Linked DNA regions of Homo sapiens: regions 2, 3 and 4 are each linked to region 1. Evidence: promoter capture Hi-C in human tissues and cell types (Jung and others, 2019). All regions are on one chromosome and are shown on one strand. Each heading gives the region's core, a stretch centred on a gene start or on the middle of the fragment in contact. The rest is flanking DNA. Distances are from core to core; before and after follow the strand shown.

Evidence for each region. The method cuts DNA at HindIII sites, captures the fragments that hold promoters and counts their contacts. A contact is called where the count stands out against the background at its distance.
Region 2: a fragment that was not itself captured here is called in contact with the fragment with the promoter of WDR19 in region 1 in 1 of the 25 tissues and cell types used here (spleen).
Region 3: a fragment that was not itself captured here is called in contact with the fragment with the promoter of WDR19 in region 1 in 1 of the 25 tissues and cell types used here (spleen).
Region 4: a contact is called between a fragment that was not itself captured here and the fragment with the promoter of WDR19 in region 1, in 1 of the 25 tissues and cell types used here (spleen).

The regions. Positions count from the first base shown.
Region 1 is chr4:39,180,833-39,184,161 of GRCh38, reverse strand. It overlaps WDR19 (WD repeat domain 19), which reads right to left and starts at 1,633. Exons shown (of 37, transcript NM_025132.4): 1 at 1,599-1,633. The coding sequence starts at 1,604. RefSeq lists enhancers at 595-664, 1,365-1,514, 1,639-1,933, 1,785-1,964. The HindIII fragment of the contact is 15,497 bases long and covers 1-3,329 here.
Region 2 is chr4:38,731,672-38,735,000 of GRCh38, reverse strand. No RefSeq gene overlaps it. Among named protein-coding and RNA genes, the nearest start is that of TLR10, 50 kb to the left of the region's middle. The HindIII fragment of the contact is 3,485 bases long and covers 96-3,329 here.
Region 3 is chr4:38,846,531-38,849,859 of GRCh38, reverse strand. All of the region lies in intron 1 of TLR6 (toll like receptor 6), which reads left to right. Among named protein-coding and RNA genes, the nearest start is that of TLR6, 8.6 kb to the left of the region's middle. The HindIII fragment of the contact is 4,111 bases long and covers 1-3,329 here.
Region 4 is chr4:38,906,520-38,909,848 of GRCh38, reverse strand. FAM114A1 (family with sequence similarity 114 member A1) reads right to left here. Exons shown (of 15, transcript NM_138389.4): 7 at 1,123-1,257. Among named protein-coding and RNA genes, the nearest start is that of MIR574, 40 kb to the right of the region's middle. The HindIII fragment of the contact is 7,729 bases long and covers 1-3,329 here.

The DNA of each region.
Region 1 (3,329 bases), core at 384-2,883:
GTGCTGGGATTACAGGCGTGAGCCACCGCACCCTGTCCCAATGAGCATTTTACATGCTAAAGAAGAAATTCCCCTCTATTGAAAGTAGAGGTGGGCTATGATCATGGGACATAAAAGTTTTATAGAGCATAAAGAAACTCATGAAGAAAGAATATTTAAAAGCATCTTACTTTTGCAATTTTGTGACCATTTCACCCTGGAACTCCTTCATGCAAGTGAGAAGTCCTTAAACTTGAATTTCATTACCTTCAATGGCTGACTTGCCTCTAGCTGTGATTTCATATTATTTTTTTTCAGTGGAGCTCTATAGATGCTCCACATACCGTGCAGAGGAAAAACTGCTAGTTTCACAACCAAAAAACCAAGACTTAAATTTTGTTTGTAGCTTATTAGCTGTAGGGCTTTAAGTAAGTCGTTTAAATTGCCTCCAGCAAAAAATTCTCAACTGTAAATCATGAATAATAACTCTTCACTTCTAATATTTCATAAATTGTAAAGAGCTTTAGAAATAAAAATGGGAGTTATGATTACTGGTCCGTCAATTCCAATTTCCACACTAATAGCCACGAAGAAGCATGAGGACATCTAAAATAATTTTAAAATTGAGCCTTCCAGCCGGGCGCGGTGGCTCACGCCTGTAATCTCAGCACTTTGGGAGCCCGAGGTCGGGGGATCATGAGGTCAGGAGAGTGACAGCATCCTGGCTAACACGGTGAAACCCCATCTCTACTAAAAATACAAAAAATTAGCTGGGTGTGGTGGCACGCGCCTGTAGTCCCAGCTACTCGGGGGGCTGAGGCAGGAGAATCGCTTGAACCCAGGAGGTGGAGGTTGCAGGGAGCAGAGATTGCGCCACTGCACTCCAGCCTGGGTAACAGAGCGAGACTCAGTAAAAAAAAAAAAAAAAAAAAGCCTTCCATTTCTTTGCCAGAGCAGAGCAAGGGGGGACTGCTCTGATAAATCAGAAAGTGGGGTGAACAAGAAGCCCAAGCCTAGAAACCGTGCGTGCAGAGGATGAGGCACATGAGCGTGAGACCTGAGTTTTCGGGTGCAGATTTCCCGTCAATAATGTACACTCGCTAGCAGGTGATTGGACTGGTCACAGGTAATACATTTTGAAGTTATTCTTTAGGAGGCTTTTCATTCTTTTTAAGGCGCTGGGCAGCTGCGCGGCTTGCCAGAGGCTTAGCCCCAAGAAATGAGGTAGCTCGTGACATCGGACCCAGTCAACTTCACAGCGACCCTCCAAACGCGTTAACTCGACCAGTTCTTTCCGCGTGCGAAGCTGGGGTATCTTTAGATCCAGTCCGCTCATTTCGGCCAGGGAGGGGTTCCCACTTTCTGCACCGCTTCTACGGCGTCTGCAGTCCCCAAAACGAGAGGCCTCTCTCTCCGCCCTCTCCTCTCCTCCTATTTTCTTTCCTTTCTCTCGTCCCTTCAGCTTCGCCCCCGCTCTCTCTGGCCACCTCTCTCTCTCTCTCTCTTCCTCATTTCCAACGAACTCAGAAGGGAGAGGGACAGATATCCTCTTTTAAAAGCGACCAAGGGCCAGTAGTCGCGTTTTCCCGCCCCACCCCGGGAATTTGTAAGTTATTTACCTTCATCTCCACGCTCGAGCCGCTACGCGAACTATGAAGTACGCAGGCGCACCCGGTCTCCACCAAGCAGGCTACCGCGTTCCCGTCACCCAGGAGACCGCGCGAGCAGCGACCAATCAGCGAGTGCTAATTGAAAGGCGGTGCCTCGAGGGGCCGGGCCAAGCGCACCGCCCTCTGCGAGGGTGGGTGAGAGGCGGAGGGTGGAATCACATGACATCAGAGACGCTAACCCTGGGAAGTTGGGCGTCGCGAGGCCTTGCTGAGCCTCGGCTTCCTGGCTGGCTCTGATTGGATGAGATTCGTCCGGGAGAGACGGGCTCTGTGAGCCCTCAAAGGCGCGTGCGTAAATTTTGGACCGCGATGACTAAGATGTCAGTGCTGGCCAAAGGGGGCGCCGAGAAGCTGAAGGAAAGAAGACGCAGAATGTTAGATTAAAGGAGGCAGGATGGGCTAAATACTCCTATACAGTCCACGCAAAGAGGGGTTGGACGAGCTCGGGTATATCTTTTTTTCTTCCAGGTTTCTGGGGTAGAAGGGAGGAGGCATAAGAGGTACAATAGTTTATTTCAAGGTAGGGTTGTTGGTGCTTTTTTTTTTTCAGTTTCACCAAAATCTTTTTTTTTTTTCAATGTCAACAAAATGTGCTAGCTAACGTGGGCAGGAAAAATGAGCTCCAATAGTTTTCCTTTAGAGTTTGGATCTGGCAGCTTTTCCCCAAGTATAAAGCCCTGTTGTACAGTATTTGTGCTGCATTATTTATAGCATGAAAGTGCATCTTTTACCCAAGCGTCTGAAAGTGTTGAAACAGTCTACCTTTTGCTTTTCTTTTCGACATCAGGTAGGAATCTGATTGGCTTAGAGAAAGTTAATCAATGATTTGAAATAACTAATAATGAATGTTTGCAAATTCTTAAGTAGGGTGCTATGCCTTTGCACTGGGGTTTTCAGTTACGTTACGACAGGGGTCCGGATCCAGACCCCAAGAGAGGGTTCTTGGATCGCGCGCAAGAAAGAATTCAGGGCGAGTTCTCAGTGCTGAGAAAAGCAAGTTTATTAAAACACGTAAAGTGGTGAAAGGACAGCTACTCCATAGACAGAGTAGGACATTCCTGAAAGCAAGAGAAGGGACGCATCCACCCTAGGTACAATGCTTGTATATATGGGGAGATGTGCTCTGCTACAAGGGTTTGTGATCAAAGATTAATTTTCTTAATTATTTTGCAGGAATTGATATTATTATCTTTAAAGCAAAATTAGGAATGCCTTTGTTCTCCAGATATCCCGATATCTGGGTCTGTTTTAGTAAACATTATTAATTTATTCCCTTAATCGTAAACATCTAGAGGCGAGGAATGCCCAAATTCTGAGAATTCAGCCCAGCAAGTCTCAGCCTCATTTTCCTAGCCCTCACTCAAAATGGAATCGCTCTGGTTCAAACGCCTCTGACAGTTAGGTTAATTACTTAAATTTTTACTGAAAGATTCCTCTGCTGAAAGGGTAACCATTTAAAAATAGCCAGAGCAATCAGTTCTTAACAAGACCTGCCCTCAGGAGAAAGTATTTTTACCAAAGCCTAGTCTGCTGGGGTTTTATCAGAGCCTAAACTACCTGGGAGAAGGGAAATACTCAACTTCAGCCTCCATAAACCATCCTGTTCCACTTAAGTGTGGGAGATTAAGAAGTATTGGCGGGCGCCTGTAGTCCCAGCTACGCGGGAGGCTGAGGCCGGAG
Region 2 (3,329 bases), core at 589-3,088, 450 kb after region 1:
TCTCAAGAGGCTTCCTGAATCAGAATGCTTTATGTCCTTGGGCTATGATAAAGTGCCATTGCTGCTGATCCATCATTCTACCAGGAGGCAAACCCCAGCAGATGGTAAATCCCCAGTTCTTGCTCTTGCTCTCTGGAGCTCCTCAGGTAGGAATAATTCCCAGTTCCAGGCTTGCAGACCTCTGACTCTTTTTTATTTATTTACTCACTTATTCATTTTTTCATTCATTCATGCATGTGTCCACCTGTCTGCTTATCCATTCATCCATGCAACAAGTATTTACAGTGTGCCAACTTCGTGCCAGGCAATGTATTGAGAACTAGAGATGCAGAAGTGAAAAGGAAAAGCTTTACTCACTCTCATCGAGCTTCCTTTATACTGAGAGGTCAGACAAGAGAGCGACAGACACTATGGTAGGAGTGAGTGCTACAGGGTGCTATGGAGGCTCAGAGAGGGCACTTAGTCTAGGGCTCGGAAGAGGCGTGCCACAAGTAGTGATGCCAAGCACAAGTTTTTCCTGGCAAAAGAATGGCAAAGCTGGTTCTACCACAACCACCAGCTACTCTTGAAATCAACTTTTTGGGATCTTCTACTAGCCTGCTGCATCATGTAGATATACCACCACCACCACCACATCTACCACCATCACCATCACCACTACCTCTACCACCACCACCACCTCTACTACCACCGCCACCACTGCCATCACCGCCACCACCACCACGATTACCAGCACCACCACCTCCACCACCATCACCACCACCTCTACCACCACCATCACCACTGCCACCACCACCATCACCACCAGCTCCACCACCACCACCAGGCCACCATCACCACCACCACCAGCACTACCATCATCACCATCACTACCACTGCCACCACCACCATCACCACTACCATCACCACTACCACCACAACTACCATGATCACCACTACCACCACCACCATCATCACCATTACCACCAGGACCATCACCACTGCCACCACCAATACCATCACCACTACCAACAACACCACCAGCACCATCACTATCACCACCACTACCACCATCACCACCTCCATTACCACCACAACCACCATGGTCACCACCACCACCATCATTATCACCATCACCACCAACACCATCACCACCACCAACACCACTACCACCACCATTGCCACCAACAACAACATCATCAACACCACCAACACCACCAACACCATCACCGCTACCACCACAACCACCAGGATCACCACTACCACCACCACCATCATCACCATCACCACCAGGACCATCACCACTACCACCATCAACACCATCACCACCACCACCATCAACACCATCACCACCACGACCAGCACCATCACTATCACCACCACTGCCACCATCACCACCTCCACTACCACCAAAACCACCACGATGACCACCACCACCATCATCACCATCACCACCAACACCATCACCATCACCATCACCAACACCAACACCAACACCAACACCACCACCACCACCATCACCACCACCACCATCACCACCTCTGCTACCAACACAACCACAATGATCGCCACCTCCACCACCATCATCGCCATCACCACCAACACCATCACTACCACTAACACCACCACCACCAACACTACCACCACCAACACTACCACCATCACCACCTCCACTACCACCCCAACAACCATGATCATCACCACCACCACCATCACCACCACCGCCACCACTGCCTCCACCACCATCACCACTACCACCAGTACCACCACCATCACCACTAACACCACAGCCTCCACCACCATCACCACCAACACCACCATCCCACCATTACCACCACCATCATCACCACCACCATCACCATCACCACCACCATCACCATCATCAACACCACTACCACCACCACCACCATCACCTCCCTTTCTGAGCTGTGCCCTGCTGAACTTCCAAATTTCTTGAGAATATCGTCCCCTGGGGAACCCTATGGCTATTTTTACTTCTTCCATGTGTGCCTTCCTCCCCACAACCACCAGTGTTCCACTCAAAGGGGCATAAACATCTATAAGGCATTCTGTATGTATGTGTTTATATAGTCTTTTTTTTTTTTTGACAGAGTCTTGTTCTGTCATTCAGTCTGGAGTGCAGTGGTGCAATCTTGGCTCACTGCAACCTCTGCTTCCCAGGTTCAAGCAATTCTTGTGCCTCAGCCTCCCAAATAGCTGAGACTCCAAGTGCCCGCCACCATATACGGCTAATTTTTTTGTGTTTTTAGTAGAGATGGGGTTTCCCCATGTTGGCCAGGCTGGTCTCAAGCTCCTGATCTCAAGTGATCCGCCTGCGTCAGCCTCCCAAAGTGCTGAGATTACAGATGTGAGCCACCAATCTGGCCTATATAGTCTTAAACATGCTCACAATATATATGTTTATGTATCTTTGTAAGCATATGCCTAATGCCTAAAATGGAATATGGATGTATACATGTTTGCACAAATACACATATGTGTGTATATACATAAGGCATATGCATACACGTGAAGAGACATATATATAATCTTCAAATTTTCAAGAAAACAAATTGTTAAATTGAGGGTACTACCTCAGAAACCAAACTTTATTAAATTTTCCCAAAAGCAGAAATAAAAGGCAGTCTATAGATTATTTTGCTATCAGAGACAACCAACAAGCCCAACAACTTTGGAAGTGCCTGGCTGATATGAAAGTTATTCTTTTTTCTTTTTCTTTTTAATTAAAAATTAATTAATTAATTAATTAATTAATTAATTAGAGACAGTGTTTCACTCTGTTGCCCAAGCTGCAGTGCAGTGGTGCAATCACAGCTCACTGTAGCTGCAAACTCATGGGTTCAAATGATCTTCATACCTCAGCCTCTCAAGTAGCGGGGACCACAGGCATGTGTCAATTTTTAAATTTTTTTGTAGAGGGGGAGTCTTGCTAGGTTGCCTAGGCTGGTCTCAAACTTCTGGCCTCAAGTGATCTCCCACCTTAGCTTCCCAAAGTGCCAGGATTACGGGCATGGCCACTGTGCTTGGCTTACCTTTTTTCTTTGAAGAAGATGTTTTTATTGGAATAGAGTTAGCAGTTTCTTCCCTCCTCTTAGTATCTAGAATAATGAGCCTAGTGCGGTGGCTCATGCCTGTAATCCTGGCTCTGGGATTGTTAGAATTTCTGATGCCCGTGAAAGTGACCCTTAGGGTTGAGAGAGAGGAGAAAAGCTTTCTCTTAGATTTTATTAATAACCAAGAGAATTATGATGATGATATTAATAATAGCAATAATTAATATATAATTAACACATAACACTCCCTATGTGCCAGGCACCATTCTAAGTGTT
Region 3 (3,329 bases), core at 566-3,065, 330 kb after region 1:
TTCCTGGATATCCTTGTTAACTTTCTGTCTCGTTGATCTGTCTAATGTTGACAGTGGGGTGTTAAAGTCTCCCATTATTATTGTGTGGGAGTCTAAGTCTCTTTGTATTGGGTGCATATATATTTAGGATAGTTAGCTCTTCTTGTTGAATTGATCCCTTTACCATTATGCAATGGCCTTCTTTGTCTCTTTTGATTTTTGTTAGTTTATAGTTTGTTTTATCAGAGACTAGGATTGCAACCCCTGCCTTTTTTTGTTTTCCATTTGCTTGGTAGATCTTCCTCCATCCCTTTATTTTGAGCCTATGTGTGTCTCTGCACGTGAGATGGGTCTCCTGAATACAGCACACTGGTGGGTCTTGACTCTTTATCCAATTTGCCAGTCTGTGTCTTTTAATTGGAGCATTTAGCCCATTTACATTTAAGGTTAATATTATTATGTGTGAATTTGATCTGTCATTATGATGTTAGCTGGTTATTCTGCTCGTTAGTTGATGCAGTTTCTTCCTAGCATCAATGGTCTTTACATTTTGGCATGTTGTTGCAGTGGCTGGTACCGGTTCTTCCTTTCCATGTTTAGTGCTTCCTTCAGGAGCTCTTTTAGGGCAGGCCTGGTGGTGACAAAATCTCTCAGCATTTGCTTGTCTGTAAAGGATTTTATTTCTCCTTCACTTATGAAGCTTAGTTTGGCTGGATATGAAATTCTGGGTTGAAAATTCTTTTCTTTAAGAACGTTGAATATTGGCCCCCACTCTCTTCTGGCTTGTAGAGTTTCTGCCGAGAGATCAGCTGTTAGTCTGATGGGCTTCCCTTTGTGGGTAACCCAACCTTTCTCTCTGGCTGCCCTTAACATTTTTTCCTTCATTCAACTTTGGCGAATCTGACAATTATGTGTCTTGGAGTTGCTCTTCTGGAGGAGTATCTTTGTGGTGTTCTCTGTATTTCCTGAATTTGAGTGTTGGCCTGCCTTGCTAGGTTGGTGAATTTCTCCTGGATAACATCCTGCAGAATGTTTTCCAACATGGTTCCATTCTCCCCGTCAATTTCAGGCACACCAATCAGACATAGATTTGGCCTTTTCACATAGTCCCATATTTCTTGGAGGCTTTGTTTGTTTCTTTTTACTCTTTTTCCTCTAAACTTCTCTTCTCACTTCATTTCATTCATTTGATCATCAATCACTGATACTCTTTCTTCCAGTTGATCAAATCAGCTACTGAAACTTGTGCATTCGTCACATAGTTCTAGTGCCATGGTTTTCAGCTCCATCAGGTCCTTTAAGGACTTCTCTACACTGCTTATTCTAGCTAGCCATTCGTCTAATCTTTTGTCAAGGTTTTTAGCTTCTTTGCAATGGGTTCGAACTTCCTCCTTTAGTTGGAGAAGTTTGATCGTCTGAAGCCATCTCTCAACATGTCAAAGTCATTCTCTCTCCAGCTTTGTTCCGTTGCTGGCGAGGAGCTGCGTTCCTTTGGAGTGGGAGAGGTGCTCTGATTTTTAGAATTTTCAGCTTTTCTGCTCTGTTTTTTCCCCATCTTTGTGGTTTTATCCACCTTTGGTCTTTGATGATGGTGACGTACAGATGGGTTTTTGGTGTGGATGTCCTTTCTGTTTGTTAGTTTTCCTTGTAACAGTCAGGACCCTCAGCTGCAGGTCTGTTGGAGTTTGCTGGAGGTCCACTCCAGACCCTGTTTGACTGGGTATCAGCAGCGGAGGCTGCAGAACAGCGAATATTGCTGAACAGCAAATGTTGCTGCCTGATCGTTCCTCTGGAAGCTTTGTCTCAGAGGGGTACCTGGCCATGTGAGGTATCAGTCTGCCCCTACTGGGGGGTGCCTCCCAGTTAGGCTACATGGGGGTCAGGGACCCACTTGAGGAGGCAGTCTGTCCATTCCCAGATCTCAAACTCTGTGCTGGGAGAACCACTACTCTCTTCAAAGCTGTCAGACAGGGACATTTAAGTCTGCAGAGGTTTCTGCTGCCTTTTGTTGGGCTATGCCCTGCCCCCAGAGGTGGAGTCTACAGAGGCAGGCAGGCCTCCTTGAGCTGTGGTGGGCTCCACCCAGTTTGAGCTTCCTGGCTGCTTTGTTTACCTACTCAAGCCTCAGCAATGGCTGGCGCCCCTCCCCCAGCCTCACTGCCACCTTGCAGTTTGAGCTCAGACTGCTGTGCTAGCAATGAGCGAGGCTCCGTGGGTGTGGGACCCTCCAAGCCAGGTGCGGGATATAATCTCCTGGTATGCCGTTTGCTAAGACCGTTGGAAAAGCACGGTATTAGGGTGGGAGTGACCCAATTTTCCAGGTGCCATCTGTCACCCCTTCCTTTGGCTAGGAAAGGGAATTCCTGACCCCTTGTGCTTCCCGGGTGAGGCAATGCCTCACCGTGCTTCGGCTCACACTCATTGAGCTGCACCCACTGTCCTGCCCCCACTGTCCGACGGGCCCCAGTGAGATGAACCCGGTACCTCAGCTGGAAATGCAGAAATCACCCATCTTCTGCATCACTTATGCTGAGAGCTATAGACTGGAGCTGTTCCTATTTGGCCATCTTGGAACCACCCCCCCTAATGTGTGCATTCTTGATGTTGACTTTAACAGGAATGCCTTGGGGTGGAATATTGATTAAAGTTAGATATTTGAGGTATTCTTTATAAAGTTTTCAAAGTATTTTTTAAATACCTATAGTTGTATTTAATCAAAGATGAGGACTGAATTTTATCAAGTGAATTTTTCACCTTTATAGAGATGCTCATCTATTTTTCTTGTTTGACTTACTCAATTGAATTATTGTTATAGACTTGTTAATGATAGACCATTTCTACAATCTCAGAAACATCCTAATTACTCATTATATTTTTTCTTCAGGACACAGCTAGATTGATTGGGGTTTCTTTATTCTGAGCTCTATCCCTTCCCCATAAATGACTGAAATTTATCCCTTTTATTTGTATTTTCTCATAATTACTCTTAATTTTATAATATATATACTTACAAATATTTTTCTAACAACATCAGGAGTTAATTGGCATCTATAGCTTCCTTTCAATTAGACAACTATCTTACATGGTTTTAGTGCACTCTCTCCCTCCCTACCCCACCTTCAGCCAACTCCCTTCTCCCTTCTTATCATTGGCAGTTTTTAGCTCGAGATTTCTATTAAGATTTTTGTCATCAATACTTTTTGGTACTTAGCACTAAATTTTACTACTTTTCTTTGCTAAATAATCCTTCTTGTATTTTATTATTTTAGAGTTAATTTCTTTTTAAACTCTCCATCCTCTGGGAATTCAGATATGGATCTGTCTTCCATGTCTTTTAGCATTTTAGTATG
Region 4 (3,329 bases), core at 234-2,733, 270 kb after region 1:
AGAAGAGACAAGAAGAAATAGCCTAAAACAAAAGCTTCTAGGGGTTGCCATGAACATATTCTCAGTGATAGCTGTTCATGAAGGCAACCTTCATGGGTTCCTAGTACCAAGTCCTGCCTGTGACGTTTACAAAATCCACTGCTGCATCAGCTGCTTCTGATTTCAGGAAAGCACAGAGACCTGGTGTATCAGTCTCTCGTGGAGGAGGTGGACTGGGGCATGCCTGGATTGTGGGGTAAGCTAGGCATGTTCCATCTGGAAAAGTAAGTTTAATATTAGAGTCATATTTGGAAAACAAGACTAATATTATTTCCAATTTTCTTAACTATTGTAAGTAAGCAAAGACAGATTGAATTCTTTGTTTTATGTTTTGCAAGAAGGGCTGGAAAACTTTAGTGCTGGAAGTGTGAGAGGAGAAGACCATCCTTGCACATATCAAGAGAAACAGAATTTAAAATTCCAATGAGATACCATTTCCACCTATTATACCGACACATAATAACGGCAATGACAACAACTAACATTTCTGAATGCTTACTAAGAGCTGGGTTCTATTCTAACTCAGCGTATCCTCACAACAAAGTTATTGGTAGGTATTTAAATTATCCCCAGTGTACAGATGAGTAAGCTGAGGCACAGAGGGGCTAAGTAACTTGCCCAAGGTCACTCAGCTACTAAGTGGTAGAGATGGGATGCATACCATGACATAAATGGATCATCTTCAAGAAATAATATTAAGTGAATTAAGCAAGGAACAAGAGTGTGTTTAGTATGTTACCACTGGGTTGAAAAAATATGTGTGTATTTATGTGCATGTCTATCCACATGCATACATATGTACTTTTACATCTGTATATTTATGTATAGCTGCATCTATAGATCTATATCCATATCTCTCTGCGGTCTCTGATAGAATCCTTAAGGAACTGTTAACTGGTTGTCTCCTCTGAGGAATTAAGTGACTGGGGAAATGGGGGTATTAGAAGCTCAGTTTTCTCTCTCTGCTCTTTGGTGTCATTTGATTTGAATCACATGCTTTAAATGAGCTATTCAAAAAGATAAATAAAAAATTTATTTACTTTATTGACTGAAAGAAAAAATTGCAAACGTATATAATCCAACCTGAGACAAGGAAACAGTTCTCTCCATGAGCGTCTTGGTCCGCTTAAAGCCCGGGTCACTTTCTGCAAGGACATTCATGGTTTTCTTGCCGATGAATTCCAACGCATCAAGGCCTCCAGTTAAGACACTTTTACCCTGCAGATGAGATAACTGCATGAGATTAGATGTTTAGGTTTTGCTGTTTCGCAGCAGTCAGCAACTCCTAGGTAACTGGCACTATCTTCAAATATTAAAATCAATATAAAGTCACAATTTTTTCTCATCAGGAGATTTATCATCCATTTAATCCTATTCTCGTTTCCTTGGAAAAGCATATGTTATATAATTTGTAGGACATACAATGTTATTAAAGACTGATGCTTAGAAAAAAACCAAAGCACATAAAATAAAATTAATCCCACAAAGGGATTAATTTTACTGGCTCTCTGTGTATGAATGGATGTGTATCTAAGACATAAAATTAACATAAAATAAATTGCTAAGACATAAAATTAACATAAAATAAATTGCTGTTTCTGTTTAAAAATTTTTTTAACCCAAGTAACAGAGTTGCTTGGAGCAGTCTATTAAAATGTCAAACAGTCCTGCTAATTTAGGGAATTCTTTAATCTAGGGCCCTGGAGGGTAAGACCCTCAGGCTGTTTCAGATGGTTCTTGCATACTCTCAGAAACTAGCAATAACTGCCTATAATTAGTATATCCATGAAATGAGACAGGTTGATTTCCTTGTACTTCTGGCTTTAGAAACTGGTGTATTATATAGCTATCCTCCTGCAAATCCCTTTGTCAGTCATTGTTGCTTTTTTTAAAAAATTAAAATAACCCAGACTTACTCACACATAAACTATTCAAGTGAACAGAACTGCATACATGTCTTTGCAACTCTTTCATACTTACACTCCAACTGTATAACTGCAATTATAATATGCATACATCTGTGTTTTTCCCCACCATATATAAAAATGATATAAATTGTATTTTATTATGATATTATTACTGATATGCATTTTCCAATCTTCATAATTATCATTTAAATAGAAGTATTTAATTTCATAGAATTAATATACTTTATTTTCATCTTGGGTATTTAGACTTTGTTTTTAGATTTGGGAGCCAACCAGTAATCATGCTGTAAATCAGTTTTCAGTGCGCACACTTCGGGGGGATGATGGGACAGCAGCAATTCACACTTCTGTGTAATTTGACTTAGTGCCTGCTAACATCCTATGAAAAATTATTTTATTGAGAATAAAATGGTGGAAGAAAGGACACAGGGATTTGTGTTAAGGATAGACTTGGAGGGGTAGTGTCTGGAACTTGGGAAAAAGGGGTCAAGAAGGTTGGAGAGAACACAGAAAGGAATGTGAGGCTGCTGAAGACAAACTCATAGTGCCCTCTTGGTAGCTCAGATAGGCCGTGAATTCATTTCTTATACCAGAGGTACTGACAGAGCTCCATCCATCTCCCATCCTACAAACCCCCCACGGGGGTGGTTGACTTGTATTGCTACTTGACTCCTAAGACAGATTTGCTGCTCCTCCTTACTTCCCCCACCCCAGTCTAGAGGTCCTCAAATAGCAAGGAGAAGACCAGTCATTTTCTATATTTCTGGCATGTCCTGACCCCAAGGTCTGGGTGAGATCCTCTCATGTTTGACCGCAGCCCTCACCTCTTCCCGAATTACATTGTGTTTATTTGTTCAGTCGCCTCAGTCCTCTGGGATATTGTGCCCTCTTGTTTGCCAGCATATATCCAAGATCTAGCATAGATACTGGAACATAGTGAGGGCTAATCATGTTTGTGTTGTTGTTTTTCTTTTAATGAATGAATGAATGAATGAATGACTAAATGAGACACGAGCCATATTTTTAGAAAAACTAGTTAGTTTACATAGTAAGAAATACACCTTCACACCTGTAATCTCAGCACTTTGGGAGGCCGAGGCAGGAGGATCACCTGAGGTCAAGAGTTCAAGACAAGCCTGGCCAACGTGGTGAAACCCCATCTCTACTAAAAACACAAAAATTAGCTGGGTGTGGTGGTGGGCACCTGTAATCCCAGCTACTTGGGAGGCTGAGGTGGGAGAATCACTTGAATCAGGGATGCGGAGGTTGCAGTGAGCCGAGATTGCACCACTGCACGCCAGCCTAGGTGACAAGAGTGAGACTCCATCTCAAAAAAACAAAAGAAAAAACAAAATAAATCTT